Regions from separate parts of the Homo sapiens genome. Here all the other regions are linked to region 1. The links are contacts of gene promoters, found by promoter capture Hi-C in blood cells and fetal thymus (Javierre and others, 2016). All regions are on one chromosome and are shown on one strand. Each heading gives the region's core, a stretch centred on a gene start or on the middle of the fragment in contact. The rest is flanking DNA. Distances are from core to core; before and after follow the strand shown. Region 1 holds the start of ADIPOQ (adiponectin, C1Q and collagen domain containing). Region 2 has its middle 17 kb from the start of RTP1. Region 3 has its middle 3.4 kb from the start of RTP1. Region 4 has its middle 3.9 kb from the start of RPL39L. Region 5 has its middle 21 kb from the start of RPL39L.

Region 1 (2,833 bases), core at 98-2,597:
GACCTTGGAAAGTCTCTCATGTCTCTCATCTCAACGGCCTAATGTGACTTCTCTTGAAATATTTGGACATTAGCAGGAAGCTGAGGCTTTACATCAGATCTTTACTTTAATGGTGGACTTGACTTTACTGGTAGATTTTTAGGCTCTGTGTGGACTGTGGAGATGATATCTGGGGGGCAGGCAGACACTTGCCCTGCCTCTGTCTGAGAAAATTCTGTTTTGGATGTCTTGTTGAAGTTGGTGCTGGCATCCTAAGCCCTTGCTGGGGTCGTAATTTAATTCATCAGAATGTGTGGCTTGCAAGAACCGGCTCAGATCCTGCCCTTCAAAAACAAAACATGAGCGTGCCAAGAAAGTCCAAGGTGTTGAATGTTGCCACTTCAAGCCTAAACTTTCTAGGAACACCTAAGTGGGTGGCAGCTTCCAGTTCTCCAGGCTGCTTCTAGGCCAGAGCTGGGTTCCACAAGAGACAGAATAGGCATATATATGCTTAAGGAACTGGAAAAACAGGCTCTCTCTCTCTCACAAACACACACACACACATACCAAGGTAGCTGTCAAAATGTTATCCGAAATTTTGGAACCAAAAAATCTTGAAAGATGGTATTCCAATATCACATTTTATGTAAGTTTTCTATTATATTAGATTCAAATTACGATTCGAGGCCACAAGCTTTAAGAATTCAGGGCCTTTTTAACTTGCCAAGCCCCACACCACTCCAGGAACTTCCCCACACCCCAGTTCTCAGAATTCATGTGCAAGGTCTTTCCTAAATCCAGGGTCCAGGTCAGAGAGTGGAGGATGTGCTCTATTTCTTACCTGATTGCAGACCCCTCTGACAGTGCTCCCTTCTGAAGCACTCACTGTCTGAACGTACACAGTCTCAGACTTAATCATGCACAGTGAGCAAGACTGTGGTGTGATAATTGGCGTCCCTGACTTATTAGGGCAAATCTATGGGAGGGGGAGACCTCCTGGACCACTGAGCAATTAATTCATTTACATTAGGAAGTTTCTCCGTCAGATGCAGGAAAAAAATCTTGTTTTCCTGCTGTGGTTTTGACTTTTGCCCCATCTTCTGTTGCTGTTGTAGGAGGCAAAATAAGGGTCAAGGCCTGGAAACACAAGTGCTTTGACTGAAGCTCCACTTGGCTTCCGAAGCCCAAGCTGGGTTGTACCAGGTTCCCTAGGGTGCAGGCTGTGGGCAACTGCCAGGGACATGTGCCTGCCCACCGGCCTCTGGCCCTCACTGAGTTGGCCAATGGGAAATGACAATTGTGAGGTGGGGACTGCCTGCCCCCGTGAGTACCAGGCTGTTGAGGCTGGGCCATCTCCTCCTCACTTCCATTCTGACTGCAGTCTGTGGTTCTGATTCCATACCAGAGGGTAAGAGCAATTCTGTGAAGTTCCAGGCTGGGTGGGGGATGCATGCATAGCCTCTGGCTGGGATCACCCAGGCTCTCCCGTCCGTAGTAGTGTGGGAGTGGATACAGGTGGATACTCTGGTCAGAGCAGCACTGGTGGAGGCAGATATGCACTGGGCTTCTTCCTCCGTTCTCCCACAGCCCCAAGAGAGAAAGGGTTATTTCAGACATTCCTTCTAAGATGCATGGAACCATTCTGAATTTTGCCCAGTTCGCTCTGTAGCAGGATACCTATTGAGAAAAAGTTAGGGTCAGTAAGGTGGAAGGGTCTGTCCACAGATGAAGTCCAATTCGATTAAGGGGGATAAGGGAATACATTGCCTCTTAGCTTGACCAGGTAGGGCAAAGGAAGAAGCATATATGAAGGCAGCTTCAGAAAAGTCAAGCTGAGCACTGACTTCAGACTGGAATTAGGAATCCAGCTCTGCCACTTTATTCTACTCAGCAAATATTTACTGAGCAAATTCTATGGGCTAGACAGTGGATTGGGTTCACAAGATACAATGAGTGTGACATGGTTGTTGTCTATGGATTTGGGGATATATGTAGGTATAGGGATATCTTACAAGGTAATCAAGAGGTTCTAATGAGGCCAGCCATGGTGGCTCACACCTGTAATCCCAGCAATTTGGGAGACCGAGGCGGGTGGATCACCTGAGGTCAGGAGTTCCAGACTAGCCTGACCAACATGGTGAAACCCCGCCTCTACCAAAAATACAAAAATTAGTTGGGCGTGATGGCAGGTGCCTGTAATCCCAGCTTCTCGGGAGGCTGAGGCAGGAGAATTGTCTGAACCTGGGAGGCAGAGGTTGCAGTGAGCCGAGATTGTTGCCACTGCATTCCAGCCTGGGTGACAGAGCGAGACTTTGTGTCAAAAAAAAAAAAAAAAGAAAGAAAAGAAAAAGAGGCTCTAATGAGATAAAATGAGAAAAGCCTGGCATATAGTGGCAACTTATGAAAAATTGTAATTAAAAAAAAACATTTTCTGACAGAAGAAACTGGATCTACCTGGTTTTTCTGAAGCCTAATCCTGCTCGCCCCAGTGAGTGCTGTTTCTGAGGCATCCTGGTTGTTTTGAGCTGTGGATGCTGAAGGTTAGAGTGGGAGGGATTTTAGAGGTTAGGTCTGCCCCTCTTGTGTTAGAGGACATGGATCCCTGGTCTGGAGAGGTTCTGGTTTTTGGATCAAGCCTCACAAGGGGTGGCACCAACTCACTCCTAGGAACTCCGCTAGAAGGAAGGCCAGCTCTGCCTAATTCGGTTGGGGAGATGGGGGTCCCTTTATGCTAGCAGAATATGTCCGAAGGAGCATGATGGTGTCAGCTTTGTTCATGAAGGCCAGTGGTACACAGGGAGCCCGGCAGCTTCCTCAGCAGTCCCTGCTGCCACTCTTCCTTAAGTCTTGAGGA
Region 2 (2,833 bases), core at 111-2,610, 370 kb after region 1:
GATCTGTTTGTCATTCAGACACTCACCCTGGGTACCGTCCAGGCCCCACACACCTTCCCATTGTCATCACACTGCTTTATCCTAATACCCCATTCCTCAGAGAAGACTCCCTTGGTGGCTTTGTGATCTGCCTAGGTGTTGAAATGGTCCTGGTTCTTTTTCCTTATTATCAGAAGCTCATTGCTAGGAATTGAGCTTGTGTTTCTGCATTCAAATGACATTTTTCTTTTCTTCTTGAAAAAAAAAATGCCAACACAGGAAATTGTTGCAAAGGCACTGTTTGTCTCCTTCCCTCAAGTTCAGAGAACCCATGGCTTCCTTTCTATGGACAAGTGCTGGTACCAGTGGGTCACAGAAAGACCAGGGACCTGGGAAACGATTTCTGCTTTTGGGTTTTGGTTTCTGCCCTCTTTTCTCTCTACTTCTCTACTAATTCACTGTGAAGTGTTAACAGAGGTTGAGAATCTGTTAAAAGTGACTTCTCTAAGCCCAGCCCTAGGTTCTCAGAGCCCCCAGAAGGAGATTCCTCTCCTCCCTGTAAGCTGGCCTGCCTCGTTCAGGACCATTAGGTCTCTTGCCTAATGTACTGTAGCCATCTTGAGTCTCCCTCAGTTCACTGCATTTAATGCCTCATTTGAAAGGGAAAGCTGATCACATCTCTCTTTGGTTTAAAATCCTTAGATGGCTCCCTATTCCCAAAAGCAAGCTGTGTATTCAAGGCTTTTTATAATCCTGCACATAGAGATCTTCCCAAATGGTGTGATGTTCTTTCTCCCAAACTGTCTGTCTCTCTAGGGACTATATCATTCAGTTTTCCACAAATGCCTGGTGTCCTTTCATATCTCCGCTTTCTCATATGCTACTCCCCATTGCCTGGGATGCTCCTCCTCCTCTTGGTTTACTACTGCAAGGTAAAACAGTACCATTCTTTCCAGAAAACACTAGTGCAGAAAGGTCTTAGCAATGGTGTTGCTACTGAGAGTCACAAAATAGTTCTGGACCACGGGCTACAATATCAGGGAATCTATCTCATCTCTGTCTCTTGCTGGTTGAGTGACCTAAGTCAGAGGTTGCACACTGGTGGGAGAGCCTATAATAATGACTTTCAAATTGCATGTCCATTAGAATCACCTGTGGATCTTTAGAAAATCCCAGTGCTCAGGCCTTACTCTAGATTGATCATATTTGGATCTCTGTGGTTGAGACACAGACATTGGCATTTCTTTAAACTCCCCAGGTAATGCCTGTGTGTAGCCTTGATTGAGAGCCATTGGTGTTAGAGTTAAGGGATTAGGCTCCAGAGTCCATCAGAACTGGTTTCAAATCCTGGTTTCTCCATCTCCTAGCTGAGAGATCTTGGGTCACATTTTTTTAAATGACATTTTTGTTTTGAGAAGTATTGGAAGGTTGTGAAGATGGTACAGGAAGTTCTGATGAATACTACACCAGTTTCCTCTATTATTACCATCTTATATTTGTTTAGTACATTTCTCACAATTAATGAACCAAGATTGATACGTTATTATTAAATAAAGTCCAAATTTTATTCAGATTTCCTTAGTTTTCACCTGATGTTTTTGTCTTTTCCAGGATCCCATCCAGGATATCACATTACATTTATTTGTCATATCTCCTTAGGTTCTGTATTAGTGTCCTGGGGCTGCCCAACCTGGGTAGCTTAAAACAACAGACATTTATTATTACACAGTTTGGAGGCTAGAAGTCTGCAGTCAGGGTGTTCCCTCTGAAACTTGTAGAAGAGAATCCTTCCTCACCTGTTCCTAGCTTCTGCTGGTTTGCTGGCAATCCTTAGCATTTCTTGGCTTGTAGCTACAAAACTTCAATCTCTGCCTTCATCAAGACATGATATTCTCCCTCACGTGTCTGTGTCTCTGTGTCTTTACTTTTCTTTTTTTTTCTTTTTGTGGAGAAGGAGTCTCACTCTGTTGCTCAGGCTGGAGTGCAGTGGCGTGATCTCAGCTCACTGCAACCTCCGCCTCCCGGGTTCAAGTGATTCTTCTGCCTCAGCCTCCCAGGTAGCTGGGATTACAGGCACCCACGACCATGCCTGGCTAATTTTTGTATTTTTAGTATGCATGGGGTTTCACAGGTTGGCCAGGCTGGTCTTGAACTCCTGACCTCAAGTGATCTGCCTGCCTTGGTCTCCCAAAGTGCTGGGATTATAGGCATGAGCCACCGTGCCTGGCCTACTCTTCTTATAAGGATGCCCGTCCTATAGGATTAATTAAGGGCCCGCTGTACTCTAGTATGACCTTTTCTTAACTAATTACAGCTGCAATTATCCCATTTCCAAATAAGTTCACATTCGAAGGTACCGGGGGGTGGGACTTTAACATATCTTTCCCATTTTGGCTCCTCTTGGCTGTGATAGTTTCTTAGAATGTCCCCGTTTTTGATGACCTTAACAGTTTTGATGAGGGTTGGTCAGGTACTTGGTAGAATGTCCCTCAGTTGGGATTTACCTGATGTGTTTCTCATGATTAGCCTGGGGTTATGGGATTTGGAGGGAAGAACACAGAGGTACAAAGCCATTTTCATCATGGCACACAAAGTCACATAGCATCCATGTGACTTAACACTTTTGTATTAACCTTGATTACCCGGCTGAGGTAGTGTTTATCAGGCTTCTGCACAGCAGAATGATTGTGTCCTGCCCCACCTTTTATACTATATTCTTTGGAAAGAAATCACTATGTGCTGCCAACACTTAAGGGATGGGGACTCATGCTGCATCTCTGGAGGGATGCACGATTTTGCATTTTTTCAAGGGGAGATTGGTCTATTCTTCCAGTTGATTTATTTGTTCAATAAT
Region 3 (2,833 bases), core at 195-2,694, 350 kb after region 1:
TGGGGACACAAATCCAAACCATATCAGGCACTTAGCAGTGGATTTAGAGAATTCCTTATATACCATTGTGATATTCCATATAGCATTGCTTCTGACTGGCAACTCATTTCAAAGTAAAGGAAATCTGGCAATGAGCTCACACTCATGAAATTCATTAGTCTTAACTATATCACCCATAATCCTGAAGTAGTTGGCCTGATTGAACAATGTGGTGGTCTTTGGAAGACTCAGTTATAGAATCAGCTGGGGGACAGGACCTTGCAGGGCTAGGATAATGTTCTCCAGGATGTGGTACATGCTCAGAATTAGCAACCATGATGATATAGTGCTTAGTTCCAAGAATTAAAGGGTAGAATGGACTGGCTTTCTCAAAATTAGCCCTAATGGTAAACTAGTTTTTTTTCCCTTTTCTTTCTGTACCCATAACTTTGATCTCTGCTATTTTAGAAATCTTAGTACCCAAGGAAAAAAAATGTTGCCATTAGAGAAGAAAATTAAAAATTCCTTTAAAGTTGAGACTACTACATGGGCTCTTAATATCATTAAATCAACAGATGGAGGGGCTTACTGTTCTGGTCCAGCAATGTTGGGGCATTCTGGAAGGAAAGAGTCTTTGTTTTGGGACTGTGAGGCACATTTAGATCTTTGGTACAGGGTACCAGTAGAAACTTCCAGTCATGGGTCCAGCCCTAAAACACACCCCTCCTTCTTCTCAAATGCCATTTAGGGATAGAAAATTGTGCATAGTTGAGAATTTTTCATGAGTGCATCATTTCAAGAAAAAAAATTAGAGGCTTGTTTTTTCTTTTCATTGCTCTATTTTCTAGTTGGGAACTTAATTTAAAGCATTTTATCCACTTAAAACATGATCACAAACTTTAAGAAATTGACCAGGGTGAGGCCAACAGCTTTAGAGATGTCTGAATTGGCCTTCTCTAAATTGTAGATTCCATGGTGTTAGAGGTCATTTGATAGAGAGCAAGTTGCAATACCACAGTATTTTTTTCTGTCTTGATAGAAATTTTTATTAGAGAAAATACTCTGCTATCCAGAAGGATGCATTATATTGGCCTCTGCACAGCAAGCTTGGGTTCTAAATAAAACTTAATTTGTGCCAATGGGGATTGCATCAGCTGGTTACACACACACACACACTCACACACACACACACACACACCCCTCTGGTGATTCTTACTTTCTGTCTTCTGTCATCATAGTGTTTATTGTAGCAACACCTGCAAAATACTTCTAGAGGATTTGTTCTGGGTAGCACTGTTTGTTATAAGCTCCTCTCAGCTTCACGTATTTTCTGGGAAGGTCCACAGCCCCCATTCTCATTTTGGCCAGTAACTCCCACCTGAGGCAGTTCCCATCATATCTGTGAGGTTTGTTAAACGAGTTTACTTATTTAGGTGTTGGTTGCCTTAATTCAGAGGTAAGAATACTGACTTGAAGGACTGAAAGTTTAATGAAGGGTCCTGAAGAACTTAAGAGTTTTTCCCAATGCCGGCCAGGTGAGATGGCGCATGCCTGTGATCTTAGCACTTTGGGAGGTGGAGGCAGGAGGTTTGCTTGAGCCCAGGAGTTTGGGACCAGCCTGGGCAACACAGCAAGACCCCGTCTCTACATAAAAAATGGGTTTTCCAATGTTAATGTTCAGTGGCTTGATATATTTAATTTCTGTCCTTCTTGCTGTGTTCAGTACAAATCTAGTAGAGAAGCACCTCCCCAGAGATCGTCAACTATATAGCAGGCCCCAGGAAACAGAGCCTGGCTCCAGGCATTACCTGCCATGCCTCTTTAGAAGCTTCCCTCTTCCAACCAGTGGCCTCCATCCTACCTCCTGCCCTCCCAGGATTCAGTTTTCTAAGTATAAAGCTGTTTGAAACCATACATGACTGAAGTTAGAGGGGAGCTTACCTTTGTCATCTACCCTAATTCTTCATTGAACAGATGGACAAACTGAGGCCAAGGGAAATTAGTGGCTTGCCCAAGGTCACAATGTCAGCCAGGAGCAGAGCTGGGCTATGTGTCTCCTGACTCCCAGTTCAGTGCTCTCTCCATTGAGCCAAGATGCCTGGCATCAAATGATTGAGGCTTTACAGGGTTGCTGTGCCTAGAGATGACTTTCTGTACCATATTTTCTTTGGTAAGATTTCAAGCTAAATATCTCTCTCAGCTCTAAAATATTTATACCGAGTATCAGGGGTCTGTGGACACCATTGCTTCATTAAGTTTGGCAGTAGAGGCAGCATCCCCAGCAGTAGCAGGGAGCCTGGTGGGTCAAGTACAACTCACCCCTCTTCTGGGGAGATGTGGCCTCAGTGTGGGGGGGCCCCAGTGAACCATTTGCTGAAATGATATAAACTTCATTTGCAATTCTTGGGGTCTGTAACGGCCACGTGAGTGATGAAGAAACACACATTTAATTAGCAGATGTTATGTTCTAGATTCCACGCTGAGCATCACAATGGCTAAAGCTGGGGCTTTGTAGACAGTCATATAGGTTTAAGTCCCAGTTCAACTAGTTATTAGCTGTTAAATCTTGTGCAAGTTATCTAACCTCTAGACTTTAGCTCACATATCTGTAAAATGGAGCTGCTGCTGCTGTTACCTACCTGTCAAGTTTGTTATTGAATGAAATAAATTAATATTTATAAAGCACCAGAACAATGCTTTCTAAGCACTTACCAGGTAAGTGCTGTATAGTGATTGCTATATAGTAAGTGCTATATGGTGATTGCTGTTACTATGCAAATTAAAATTATATTCACATAAAACATTAACACGTATTTTTTACTAGGATGAAAAGATACAGATTATATACATTAGA
Region 4 (2,833 bases), core at 166-2,665, 300 kb after region 1:
GTTTTGGCCTATTTGCATTGCTATAAACGAACACTTGAGGATGGATAATTTATGAAGAAAGATTTATCTGGCTCATGTTCCACAGGCTGTATAAGAAGCATGGTGCCCACATCTACATCTAGTGAGAGCCTCAAACTGCTTTCACTCATGGTGCAAGGGAAAGGGGAGCAACTTGTGCAGAGATCACATGGCAAAAGACGCAAGAGAGAGTAGAGAGGGAGGCTCTTTTTAAATATCAGCTCTCAAGGTGTATTAGTCCATTTTTACACTGCTAATAGAGACATACTGGAGACTGGGTAATTTGTAAAGGAAAGCAGTTTAGTTGACTCACAGTTCTCCATGGCTGGGGAGGCCACACAAAATTTACAATCATGGTGGAAGAGGGAGCAAACATGTTCTTCTTCACATGGCAGCAGCAAGGAGAAGTGCTGAGCAAAAGGGGGAAAAACCCCATATAAAACTATCAGACCTCATGAGAACTCAATCGCTATAACAAGAACAGCATGAGGGTTAACTGCCCCATGATTAAATTATCTCCCACTGGGTCCCTCCCACAACATGGGGATTATGGGAACTACAATTCACGATGAGATTTGAGTTGGGCACAGCCAAACCATATCACGAAAGCACTAAGAGTGCGAAGTCACCATCCCCCAGAGAGGGCATTAATATATTCACGAGGGATCCACCTTAAACCTCAGGACCCAAATATTTCCCATCAGGCCCCACCTCTAACATTAGGGATCAAATTTCAATATGCAGTTTGGGGGACGAACGTCCAAAGTATAGCAATCAGCCTTTTAAAACTTACCCTTTTCATTTTGAGATAATTGCAGATTTACCTGCAGTTGTAAGAAGTAGTATAGGGGCTGAGTGTGGTGGCTTATGCTTATAAACCCAGTGCTTTGGGGGGCCAAGGTGGGAGGATCTCTTGAGCCCAGGAGTTTAAGACAGTCTGGGTCATACAGCAAGACCCTGATCTACAAAAAATTGAAAGTTAACCAGGCATGGTGGTGTGCATCTGTAATCCAGCTACTTGGGAGGCTGAGGCGGGAGGGTGGCTTGAGTCCAGGAATTTGAGGCAGCAGTGAGCTACAATCACATCACTGCACTCCAGCTTGGTTGGCAGAGTGAGACCCTGTCTCTAAAAAAAGAAAGAAAGAGAAATAGTTCAGAGATTCTTTGTGCCCTTTGCCCAGTTTCTCCAAAAGGTAAAATCTTGCAAAACTCTACAATAATATTACTATCAGGATATTGGCATTGTTACAGTCAAGATACAGAACTCTTCCATCACCATAAGAATCCCTCATGGTGCTCTTTAATAGGCACAGCAACTTTCCACCTGCTTCCACTCCTCCCATATGCCATTAGTTCTCCATTTTTATAAACTTGTCCTTTCAAGATCGCAATATAAAGGAGAACTATAGCATGTAACCTTTTGGGATTGGCATTTTTTTTTGCTCAGCATAATTCTCTGGAGATTCATCCAGTTTATTGCCTGTATCAGTAGTTTGTGTCTTTTTATTGCTGAATAATATTCCATAATATCCACAGTGTATTTAACCATTATCAGTTGAAGAACATCTGGGCTAATTATGAATAAAGTTGCTATAAAATTTGTGTCTAGGTTTTTGTGTGAACATGAGTCTTTATTTCTTTGAGACAAATGCCCAGAAGTGTAATTCCTAAGCCATATGGTAGTTGCATGCTTAATTTTTCAGAATCTGACAAACTGATTTCCAGAATGGCCATATCATTTTTTTCCCACTAGTAAACTATGAGTGATTCTTTGCATCCTCACCAGAATTTGATGTTGTCACTTCTTTGTTTTAGTAATCTTGCTAGGTATATATCAATATATCATTGTAGTTTTAATTTGCATTTCCCTAATGGCTAATGATATAGAACATCTTTTTTCATTTGCCAATTTGCAATCTTGTGTATCCTCTTCAGTAAAATCTCTTTTCATTACCATGTTTGTTTCCTTTTACTATTGAATTTTGAGAGCTCTTTATATATTCAAAATGCTAGGCCTTTGTCAGATATGTGTTTTACAGATATTTTCTCCCATTCTGTAGCTTGTCTTTTCATTCTCTTAACAGGGTCTGTCACAGAGCAAAAGTTTTTAACGGGTGAAGTTACATTTATCAACTTTTCTCTTACGAGTGATGTTTTTAGTGTTAAGACTCTTTGTCTAGCTCTAGCTCTTAAAGATTTTCTCTTTTTTTCCTAAAAGTATTATAGTTTGATATTTTACATTTAAGTCTGTGATCCATTTTTAGTTAATTGTTATATAAGGTATGAGTACTTTTTTGCCTGCTTTATTAGTCTATTCTCACACTGCTATAAAGATACTACCTGAGACTGGGTAATTTATAAAGAAAGGAGGTTTAACTGACTCACAGTTCCACATGGCTGAGGAGGCCTCAGGAAACTTACAATCATAGCAGAGGGCAAAGGGAAAGCAAGTACCTTCTTCACAAGGTGAAGACAGGCAAGAGAGAGAGAGCTCAGGGAAATTGCCAGACTTATCAAACAACCAGATCTCAGGTAAAAACACTTACTATCATGAGAACAGCATTGGAGAAACCACCCCCATGAGAAATCACTCACTATCATGAGAACAGCGTAGAGGAAACTGCCCCCATGATCCAATCACCTCCCACCAGGTCCCTCCCTCAACGTGTGGGGATTACAATTCAAGATGAGATTTGGGTGGGGACACAGACCCAGACCATATCATTCCACCCTGGCCCCTCCCAAATTTCATGTTCTTTTCATATTTCAAAACCAGTCATGCCTTCCCAACAGTTCCCCAAATTCTTAACTCATT
Region 5 (2,833 bases), core at 201-2,700, 280 kb after region 1:
CAAACACGATATAAAAATGGCCCTTACACATATGAAAAGGTGTTCAACCTCACTCAAACAAATGAATGCAAATTAAGACTATACTGAGATACCGTTTCTCACCTACCAGATGGGGAAAATTAGATAGTGTGATGCCATTCTGATGAAAGGCTGTGAGAAGAGAAGACAGCTGTGAGGGGTTTTCAGCACTCGGCTCTCCAGTTCATCCTTCTACATGAGTTTCAGTGATGATCAAGGAAGATACGTGAGGAGAAGAGAGTGCCTGTGCTGTTTGGTGCAGACTTAGAAAGGATGTTGGGAACAAAGCACTGGGGTGTTCTGGAGATGTTATCTGAGTTCCAAAGAGTGGATTTAATACATTTTTTAAAAATTTTCTAATTCCACAGGTTATTGGGGAACAGGTGGTGTTTGGTTACATAAGTTAAGTTCTTTAGTGGTAATTTGTGAGATTTTCGGTTCACCCATCACCCAAGCAGTATACACTGCACCCAGTTTGTAGTCTTTTATTCCTCACTCCCTTCCCACCCTTTCCCCCTGAGTCCCAAAGTCCATTGTGTCATTCTTATGCCTTTGCATCCTCATACTTAGCTCCCACTTATGAGTGAGAACATACAATATTTGATTTTCCATTCCTGAGTTACTTCACTTAGAATAATAGTCTCCAATCTCATCCAGGTTTCTGCGAATGCCATTAATTAATTCCTTTTTATGGCTGAGTAGTATTCCATCATCCATCTATCATCTATCTATCTATCTATCTATCTATCTATCTATCTATCTATCTATCTATAAAAAACAGTTTCTTCATCCACTCATTGATTGATGGGCATTTGGGTTGGTTCCACATTTTTGCAATTACGAAATGTGCTGCTATAAACATGTGTGTGCAGGTATCTTTTTCGTATAATGACTTTTTTTCCTCTGGGTAGATACCCCGTAGTGGGATTGCTGGATCAAATGTAGACCTATACTGAACATACCCATTTACATCATCCTACAATTTCAAGTATATTTTCTCATATGATATGTGGCAAACAAAAGACATCTGTATCTTTTGATATGTGCTCTCTGTTAAGGTTGGTGCTGGTGCTTGAGAGTGACCTAAATTTTATGGGTCCCATCAAATGGAGGAAAAATTCTCTATAATTGACCTCAGATTTCATTAGGTGACAGATGGCCTATGCTCAGAACATAATCTATTAGAATCAGAAAACTACCTATTGTCTTGGATATTTATGGCAAATTATTAAAATGTTTTCAATCATCAATGCTAGCGTGTAGTCACAGCCCTTGGTGCAGCCTAAAGACAGATGAGCCCAAACCCCCACTCAGAAACAGACCATACCAAGGTAGAGAGGTTCAGCCAACCCACCCAGCTCAACTCAGCTCAGAGTCAGACCTCTGACACTCTAAAGTAGCATTTTATGAAAACCTTGTTTTATTGCCTCAGTTTATGAAGCTGTTTTCAATCTCATTCAAGCCTTGTAACTCAGTGAGGAAGTCGGCTGTCTGATATATCCAGGTGAAATACAATAATTAAGGCCCAGAGAGGTTCTCTACCAGTTGTCCAACATCATAAAACTGATGGGAAGAGCCATAACTTCAAGCTACCCGAATCCTAGTCCTTTGCTTTTTGTTTCTATTGTGGAAGAATTCTTCCCAGAAACAGGATCACTCCCACAAGCAGGGATTCCATTATTTCAAAATTGAGTCAGGAATCTTAAGATTATGGGAGTAAAGCCTTGTTCAATTAACTAGACTCAAGATACAGAAACCAAGATGGGTGTGGTGGCTCATGGCTGGAATTCCAGCACTTTGAGAGGCCAAGGTGGAAGGACTGCTTGAGGCTAGGAGTTGGAGACCAGCCTGGGCAACACAGTGAGGCCCTGTCTCTATAAAAAGTAAAAAATTAGCTGGGCATGGTGGTGCACACCTGTTATCCTAGCTACTCAGGAGGATGAGGTGGGAGAATCATTTGAGCCCAGAAGTTCAAGGCTGCAGTGAGCTAGGATCACATCACTGCACTCCAACCTGGGCGACAGAGCAAGACTGTCTCAAAAAAAAAAAAAAAAAGAAAAGAATAGAAACCAATACTCGATTTTATATATGGGCTCCTCCTTCCTCTTCCATCATAGCTTTCCCAGTATGATTCCCTTAATTTTCTTAACCCTAGTACAACCATCTCGTGATGCACAGACCAGATTTTTCCTCCACTGTTCCACCACTGGGACACGTTGTCTTAGGTCTATACAACATTGATCTAATCCCTGAAGATGAAGGGCCCACTTAAAAAAATTATCTATGTACTAAAAATGTATCTATGTCCGAGGCCTTCTTTGTACAGTCATCACTTGTTATTTGCCAGGGATTGGTTCTAGGACTTCTACAGATACTAAAACCACAGATGCTCAAGTCCTTTATATGAAATGGCCATACTTATTTGCATATAACCTATTCACTTCTTCTGTATATTTAAAATCATTTCTAGATTACTTATAAGACCTAATAAAATATAAATGGTATATAAATCATTGTTATACTGTATTTTTATGTGTATTATTTTTTATTACTGTATTATAATTTTTGGACATTTTTAATCTGTGGTGGGTTGAATTTGCAGATGCGGGACCATGAATATGGAGAATTGAGTGTACTCCATTTTTTTATAAGCATAAAATTACACTCATTCCTAGACCTTCACCTCCTATACACTTCTGTGCTCAGGGCAGCTACGTATTTATGAGGCAAAGCCTCCCATTCAATTTTGAGAATAGGGAATTCACTCCTGATATCAGAGGGAGAGATGAAGCTGACCTACATGACACCTTAGCAC

The links. The method cuts DNA at HindIII sites, captures the fragments that hold promoters and counts their contacts. A CHiCAGO score of 5 or more calls a contact.
Region 2: a fragment that was not itself captured here is called in contact with the fragment with the promoter of ADIPOQ in region 1 in 1 of 17 cell types (M2 macrophages); the score reaches 5.2 in M2 macrophages.
Region 3: a contact is called between a fragment that was not itself captured here and the fragment with the promoter of ADIPOQ in region 1, in 3 of 17 cell types (activated CD4 T cells, naive B cells and megakaryocytes). The highest score is 6.0, in activated CD4 T cells.
Region 4: a fragment that was not itself captured here is called in contact with the fragment with the promoter of ADIPOQ in region 1 in 14 of 17 cell types (non-activated CD4 T cells, activated CD4 T cells, naive CD4 T cells and 11 more); the score reaches 17.7 in non-activated CD4 T cells.
Region 5: a fragment that was not itself captured here is called in contact with the fragment with the promoter of ADIPOQ in region 1 in 15 of 17 cell types (naive CD4 T cells, activated CD4 T cells, non-activated CD4 T cells and 12 more); the score reaches 24.2 in naive CD4 T cells.

The regions. Positions count from the first base shown.
Region 1 is chr3:186,841,363-186,844,195 of GRCh38, forward strand. ADIPOQ (adiponectin, C1Q and collagen domain containing) reads left to right here and starts at 1,348. Exons shown (of 3, transcript NM_004797.4): 1 at 1,348-1,387. RefSeq lists a promoter at 672-1,370, a cis regulatory region at 772-799 and an enhancer at 1,388-2,833. The HindIII fragment of the contact is 5,592 bases long and covers 672-2,833 here.
Region 2 is chr3:187,213,239-187,216,071 of GRCh38, forward strand. No RefSeq gene overlaps it. Among named protein-coding and RNA genes, the nearest start is that of RTP1, 17 kb to the left of the region's middle. The HindIII fragment of the contact is 8,392 bases long and covers 1-2,833 here.
Region 3 is chr3:187,192,672-187,195,504 of GRCh38, forward strand. No RefSeq gene overlaps it. Among named protein-coding and RNA genes, the nearest start is that of RTP1, 3.4 kb to the right of the region's middle. The HindIII fragment of the contact is 722 bases long and covers 1,084-1,805 here.
Region 4 is chr3:187,141,965-187,144,797 of GRCh38, forward strand. No RefSeq gene overlaps it. Among named protein-coding and RNA genes, the nearest start is that of RPL39L, 3.9 kb to the left of the region's middle. The HindIII fragment of the contact is 3,288 bases long and covers 1-2,833 here.
Region 5 is chr3:187,116,764-187,119,596 of GRCh38, forward strand. No RefSeq gene overlaps it. Among named protein-coding and RNA genes, the nearest start is that of RPL39L, 21 kb to the right of the region's middle. The HindIII fragment of the contact is 5,493 bases long and covers 1-2,833 here.